Linked DNA regions of Homo sapiens: region 1 is linked to region 2. Evidence: promoter capture Hi-C in 16 types of primary human blood cells and fetal thymus (Javierre and others, 2016). All regions are on one chromosome and are shown on one strand. The core of a region is centred on a gene start or on the middle of the fragment in contact, and the rest is flanking DNA. Distances in the headings are between cores, read along the strand shown.

Region 1 (3,167 bases), core at 601-3,100, 270 kb before region 2:
TTTCTTTTTAAATTCAGCCTGTCCAAATCTGAACCCAGAGCATTCCTTTTCAAACCTTTTTTATATGTTTTCCAGTTCAAAATGACACCATCATCTCTTCAGTTAATTTACCGTAAATTCTTAGTTTTATCTTAGAATTTCTCTTCCCTAGGCAGTCATCAAAATCTTCATTTTTTTGTTTTTTGAGAGACAGGGTCTTGCTCTGTTGCCCAGGCTGAAATGCACTGGTGCCATCATAGCTCACTGCAGCCTCAAACTCCAGGGCTCAAGCGATTCTCCCACCTCAGCCTCCTGAGCAGCAGGAACTACGGGTGCACACTGCCAAGCTTGGCTAATATTTTTATCTTGCGTAGTGACAGGGTTTCATTGTGTTGCCCAGGCTGCACATTCTCTTAAATCTCATCACTAAAATGTCTCTAATAAGCCATCGTGAATATGTCTAAGTTCAGGATCTCCTCACTGTAGAGTGACTTGCTCCTGATCTTAAGTTATTCCTTTGACCTGTTTCTTGCCTTTCCAGTATTATTTCCCACTGGATTTACCCCTCTTAATACACAGAATTGGTCATGTTATTTCAAAAAGCATTGGTCACGCCTTACTTTATTAATTTATCAAATATTTAAAAAGTACCTACTATGTATTAGGCTCTATCCTAGGCATCGGTGATCCACAGTTCCCTACGGATCCAGTAATTAAAAGGAACAGTTGATTTCTTCAGAGAGTTTATAGTCAGACATTAGAAATGAAGACATCAGTAGGTAATCACAATACAATGTGACAATTTCTACAATAGAAACATAAGCTAGAAATGGACGTGAACACGAGCTTAGAATCATATCCAACTGTCCTTAGATAGTGAGGGTGCAGGTAGAAAAGGGGTGCAGCAGGACGCTGCTGGAGTGTTTCGTAAGAATTGACATATAAGATAGGATGTGAAAGGAATCGCCATAGGCTAGATGAAGGGGTAGCACAAGGGCTGAAGGCAGCACCCAAGTCTTTGAATGCAAGTCAGTTTTCCAGACTTATTTGCTGAAGTATCCACCCCCACCTTATCCTATAGCTAGTCAGAGTAAAAGCTCCACCTATAAAAATGTCACTTGCGGCCGGGCGCGGTGGCTCACGCCTGTAATCCCAGCACTTTGGGAGGCCGAGGCGGGCGGATCACGAGGTCAGGAGATCGAGACCATCCCGGCTAAAACGGTGAAACCCCGTCTCTACTAAAAATACAAAAAATTAGCCGGGCGTAGTGGCGGGCGCCTGTAGTCCCAGCTACTTGGGAGGCTGAGGCAGGAGAATGGCGTGAACCCGGGAGGCGGAGCTTGCAGTGAGCCGAGATCCCGCCACCGCACTCCAGCCTGGGCGACAGAGCGAGACTCCGTCTCAAAAAAAAAAAAAAATGTCACTTGCATTTGCAGTCTCACAAGGTTTTCTAGAGTCAGAGAACTCAAGGAGCAATCTGCTGGGAACTGCACATAAACCATGATGGGGGTAGTACTGCCTATTTGTAAACATCCTCTATCATCTTTGTGCTGGTGGAAAAGAGAAAAGCTGTTTTAGAAATGTTGTTGTGGTAACTCTTATTTTTAAAGCTTTTAACATAGAAATTTTCAGCATATGTAAAAGTAGTGTGAATTGTACAGTGAATCTCCAGCCAGTTTCAATAACCAGCAACACTATTCTATTGACAACCTTGTTATGGGCTGAACCGCATCATTCAAAAGAGAGACGTAGAAGTCCTAACTTCCAGGACCTCAGAACGTGACCTTACTTTAAAATATGGTCTTTGCACGTTCAATCAAATTAAGATGAAGTCATTGGGGTGAGCCCTAATCCAGCGTGACTGCTGTCCCCGTAAACTGGGGAAATTTGGACACAGGCATCCAGAAGGAAAGATGATGTGAAGACACCGGGCGAACACAGTGTGAAGACGGAGGCACAGATAGGACTGATGCAGCTGCAGGCCACGGAGATCTCCAAGTTGGCCATCGCTACAAGCTAGCAAAAGGCAAGGAAGAATTCTATGCAGAGTCTCAGAGGGAGCGGGGCCCTGCGAATATCTTGATTTTGACCTTCAGAACTGTGAGACAGTAAATCTCTACTGTTTTAAGCCACGAAGCTTGTGGTACTTCAGTATGGAGCCCTAGCAAACTAACACAAACCCTTTCATCTCGTCCACTAGGTTATGCTAGAGCACATCCCAGACAGCAAAATCATTTCATCTGTAAAAACATCAAAACCGCTCTTAGCACATCCATCAAAATTAACACCACTGCTTGCAGTTACTTTTGCCCCTAGAATACCTACACTAATAAGTCAAACTGCTGCAATGTAAAGGCAATTCAAATAATTCTTTTTGTGGCTAAGCCACCAACCTGGAACACAATTAGGGTTGTTTCATTCTGCTTTCAATATGTAGGGGGTACTTTCTCATTTTTGTTTAATTTTGTCTTATAATTTTATAAACCATTTTTATAGTTCTGAAGTCAAAATTTTGAGACCTCAAAAAGTCATAGATTCTACCCCTGTTCCATCCTTTTTCTTCCTTCACCTTAGAGATAACCATTTTTATTGATCTCCTTTTTTTTCTTTTGCTTTTATCTTTCTAAAAAAAATAATTGCACTGCTTAATGACTGGGATATGTTCTGAGATACGCGTTGTTGGCGATGTTGTGCAGTCATCAGAGTGTGTTACACAAATCTAGATGGTATAGGCTACTACACACCTAGGCTATACCCCTATACAGCATGTTACTTAGCTGAATACTGTAGGCTACTGTAACACAATTGTAAGTATTTGTGCATCTCAACATATTAAAACATAGAAAAGGGACAGGAAAAATGCAGTATTATCATCTATGGGAGCATCATCATATATGTAGGCTATCATTGACTGAAACATTATGTGCTCCATGACAGTGTAAGTAAATACACACACACTTTTCTTGGTATTCCCACCCACCTTTCTTAGATAACAGTACTAACTGTGCTGTTCTGCACTTATTCTCACATTCTGGAGATCACTCCATAGTAGAAGTTACAGAGGTCCTCCTCATTCCACTTTACAGCTGTGTGGACGTACCACAGTTTATCATCCTTGGAGTGCCTTAGCTTTAGTTCTAGGCCCCCAGTTCTTCTCACTCTGCATCTTTCCACAGGCAACTTCAATC
Region 2 (3,126 bases), core at 5-2,504:
TCCGCAGGCCCAGGGGGCAGGAGCACCTTGTATGGTTGCAGGGGTGTGCCCAGAACAAGGGCACCCGAGCAGGCTGGCAAATGGGGGCTGAAGTCAGGCCGCCCTCCCCAGCCAACCGGCCAGAGGCGTAGGTGGCACCCGCCCGGGAAGGGGCGCCCTCGCGGGGCGGGGTAGACATGGGCGGCTGGAGTGTTTGGGTGGAGCCGATTCAGGCCTGCGTCGGGCTCAACTGACAGGGCTTCTTTGACGCTGTGTGAATTCGAGTGATTAAAACGGAGACTCTTTCAGAAGAAGTAAAGGAAGGAGACTTGGGCCACCCCAGGGCGAGGACGGGAGAGGGACGCTGGACACCGAGCCCGGCCCCGCGGCCCTCACCGCAAACAGGCGCAGCACGTTGGCGACCATGATGGAGACGGAGCTGGCCGAGGCGCCCACGACGGCCACGACGCGCTCGGGGGGCGCGGGGCGCAGCGGAGGGACGCCTCCCGGGCAGCGCACGCCCACCTCGTCGCCGTCGCCGCGGCCGCGGATCAGCGCCTGCACGAAGCTCAGCGCCTGCTCCAGCGCGTAGGTGTCCCGCGAGCAGGTGTCCAGCAGCCGCGCGCCCAGGCGCACGCCGGGCAGCAGCTCGGGGTCGGCGTTGACGCGGTCCAGCGCGTACAGCATGGCCTCCAGCCGGTGCACGCCCTGCTCCTTCTTCAGCTGCCCGCACGCCCGGCCCGCCGCGCCCCGCGCGTGCACCGGGAACAGGCCGCCCAGCGTCAGGCCGCCCGCCAGGCGCACAGAGCCCGCCGCGCGCGCCAGGCCCGCCTGCGCCAGCCACGCCAGCGGCAGCAGCGCCACGAGCAGCGGCTCCCGGGCTCTCCGGGGCCGCGCCATCGGCTCGTCTAGCGGGCTGCGGGGAGACAGAGGGGCGGGGAGCGCTCTGAGGGCGGGGGAAGGAGAGCGCGGGCTCGGGGCGCGGGGAGGGACACCGGGGTCCTGGGGAGAAGGCGCTCGGGGCGCGCCTTCCACTTCGGCTCTGGGGAGTTAGCTCAGCCGGCCTGCCCGGGCCTCCGTCTCGCTCTTACAAGCGCCGAACCCTGTCGCCCGGGGTCCCGCCCGACCACTGCCTCCACCCCTCCAGCCCTGCCGCTTCCCGACAGCTTGGCCCCTCTTCCTCGGGGTCCATCCCCAGCGCACACCCAGGCTCCCGCCCCAAGCCAGTCACCTGCGCCAGCCGCTGTCGGTTCAGGACAAGTCTGTGACAGATGCGGCCGAGGCCCTGAGCGAGAGAGGATTTAAGGATTCTAGGGAGGGATGAGAGACCGCTCCGAGGGTGGAGACCCCTCCTGAGTGTGGGGGGTGGCGGTGCTGGCTCTCCCCGCATCTCCTTCCCCTCCCTCTCCCAATCTCTGGGTCTGTTTTCCTGTTTTCTTGTCTTTGGTTTGCGTCTGACTCAGACTGTCTGGCTGTCTCTGGGGCTGTGTCTGACACAATCTCTGTCCATCTCTATCTCAGTCTTCTTCTGCCTCTAGGTCTCTGTTTCTCAGTCTCTGTCCCTGGCTTTCTGCCTCTGTCCTCTTCTTGGAAATCTTTTCTGTCTCTGTCCCTTCCTGTCTCTCCCTGCGGTTATCTCTCTCTGTCCCTGACCCCTTTTCTGTCTCTCTGTCTCTGTCCTGGCCACCAGTGCTCCTGACTGCAGTTGCCTAAGGTATTCCCCAGCTTTCTCCTTGCAGAACCCTGCAGGGGGCAGGGGCTGCCTGAGCTGGGAGGGCCTAAGGAAGAGGAGGAAGAGCGAGGGGCAGGAAGGGGCCAGGAGGGAGAAGCCTTTAGTATTAGCGAACTTACAACACCCTGCAGTCGAGAAACAGCCCTCGAGGAGTGAGTTGAGTTGCCCAAGTGCATGCAGCTGGCATGTGTGGGCATCAGGATTCACACCCAGAATGGCATGAAACAAACAGCCCACACTGCCTTGGATGGAGGGAGGGGAGGGGCCGGCTTTCCTCGCAGCTCCCACTCCCGCCTATTGCTTGGGAGGATGGAACCCCGCGGGGTCGTTCTGGCTCCGTATAAAGTCTCCTCGGGCTCTGGGTCTGAGGCAGCCACTCGAGCTGCGGTGCTCACTGTGCCAACGCTCTCTGCACCTAACTCCCCATCTCATCGTGGAGGCCAAGGTGAGGGGGCTTGGCCAAAAGATGCTTTTATCATCCCCCCATCCGAGGCCCAGGATTTGGCTCTCTGATGCCAAGAGAGCAAAGGGCGTCCTGGAGACAGGTGGTGAGCTCCTAGCCACAGGGATTAGCAGGCTCCTCGTCCGAGGGCCTGAGCCGGCTTGGGCTCCATTAGACAGGCTGGATTAGGGTGGCTGCGGGGATTTGGACAAGGCTGGTAGAGGGAGCAAGCAAGAAACATGCCACCTTTCTCTCTTCCCCCGCCTCTCCCAGGCCCCGATAGTTTCTACTGCCAGAACCACTTCTCCTGGTGGAAGCCCAGAGTCAACAGGCTGGGCCTAGCCCTGCTCCTATCCATTTTAACAGTGGGAAGGGTGGGGAGCTTGGCTGGTGCCAGGCCCTGAGCCTGACATTGCGAAGGACTGCATAAACTGGGTTTGGGAGGTGGATGGGCCCTTCCCTGTTCAGGACGAGCCTGACAGCTCCCAGCACACAGCAGCCTCCTGCTTGGCATGACCAAGGCAGCCACTGCCCCTGTCTGGAGGACAGACCATCAGGAAGCGGGGGCAGCAGCTGGGGGACTGGCAGGGGGTCCTCGCCGTGTAGGAGGGAGGCATGCACACCTGTGAGCAGGGGGCTGGAGGAGAAGGGGAGGGGGGTGGCAGGATTTTAGACCTGATGGAGATTTGGCTCTTGGAGGGGTGGAGGATGGCATAGCTGCTGGGGCATTCCCTGAGAATATGAGGACCAGAGACACAGCTGAGCAGGTCAAGGAGGGCAGAAGCCAAGAGTTCGGGTTTGGGCAGGAAAGTGGAGGCTTCGTGGTTCATGAGCCTGGAACTGAGGGAAGAGGCCAGGGCGGGAGAGAAAGCTGAGGTGGGATCGCCACGGAGGCGTTTAAAGCCGTGGGACGCAGGAGTTCCCTGGGGCTGAGAGTGTGGACAGACAGTGAGGCTGGAGCCCCAGGAACCCC

The links. The method cuts DNA at HindIII sites, captures the fragments that hold promoters and counts their contacts. A CHiCAGO score of 5 or more calls a contact.
Region 1: a contact is called between a fragment that was not itself captured here and the fragment with the promoter of GRM6 in region 2, in 1 of 17 cell types (megakaryocytes). The highest score is 5.5, in megakaryocytes.

What each region holds. Positions count from the first base shown.
Region 1 is chr5:178,718,565-178,721,731 of GRCh38, forward strand. All of the region lies in intron 4 of ZNF354A (zinc finger protein 354A), which reads right to left. Among named protein-coding and RNA genes, the nearest start is that of ZNF354A, 11 kb to the right of the region's middle. The HindIII fragment of the contact is 527 bases long and covers 1,588-2,114 here.
Region 2 is chr5:178,994,066-178,997,191 of GRCh38, forward strand. It overlaps GRM6 (glutamate metabotropic receptor 6), which reads right to left and starts at 1,255. Exons shown (of 11, transcript NM_000843.4): 1 at 1,211-1,255; 2 at 376-895. The coding sequence starts at 879. The HindIII fragment of the contact is 9,329 bases long and covers 1-3,126 here.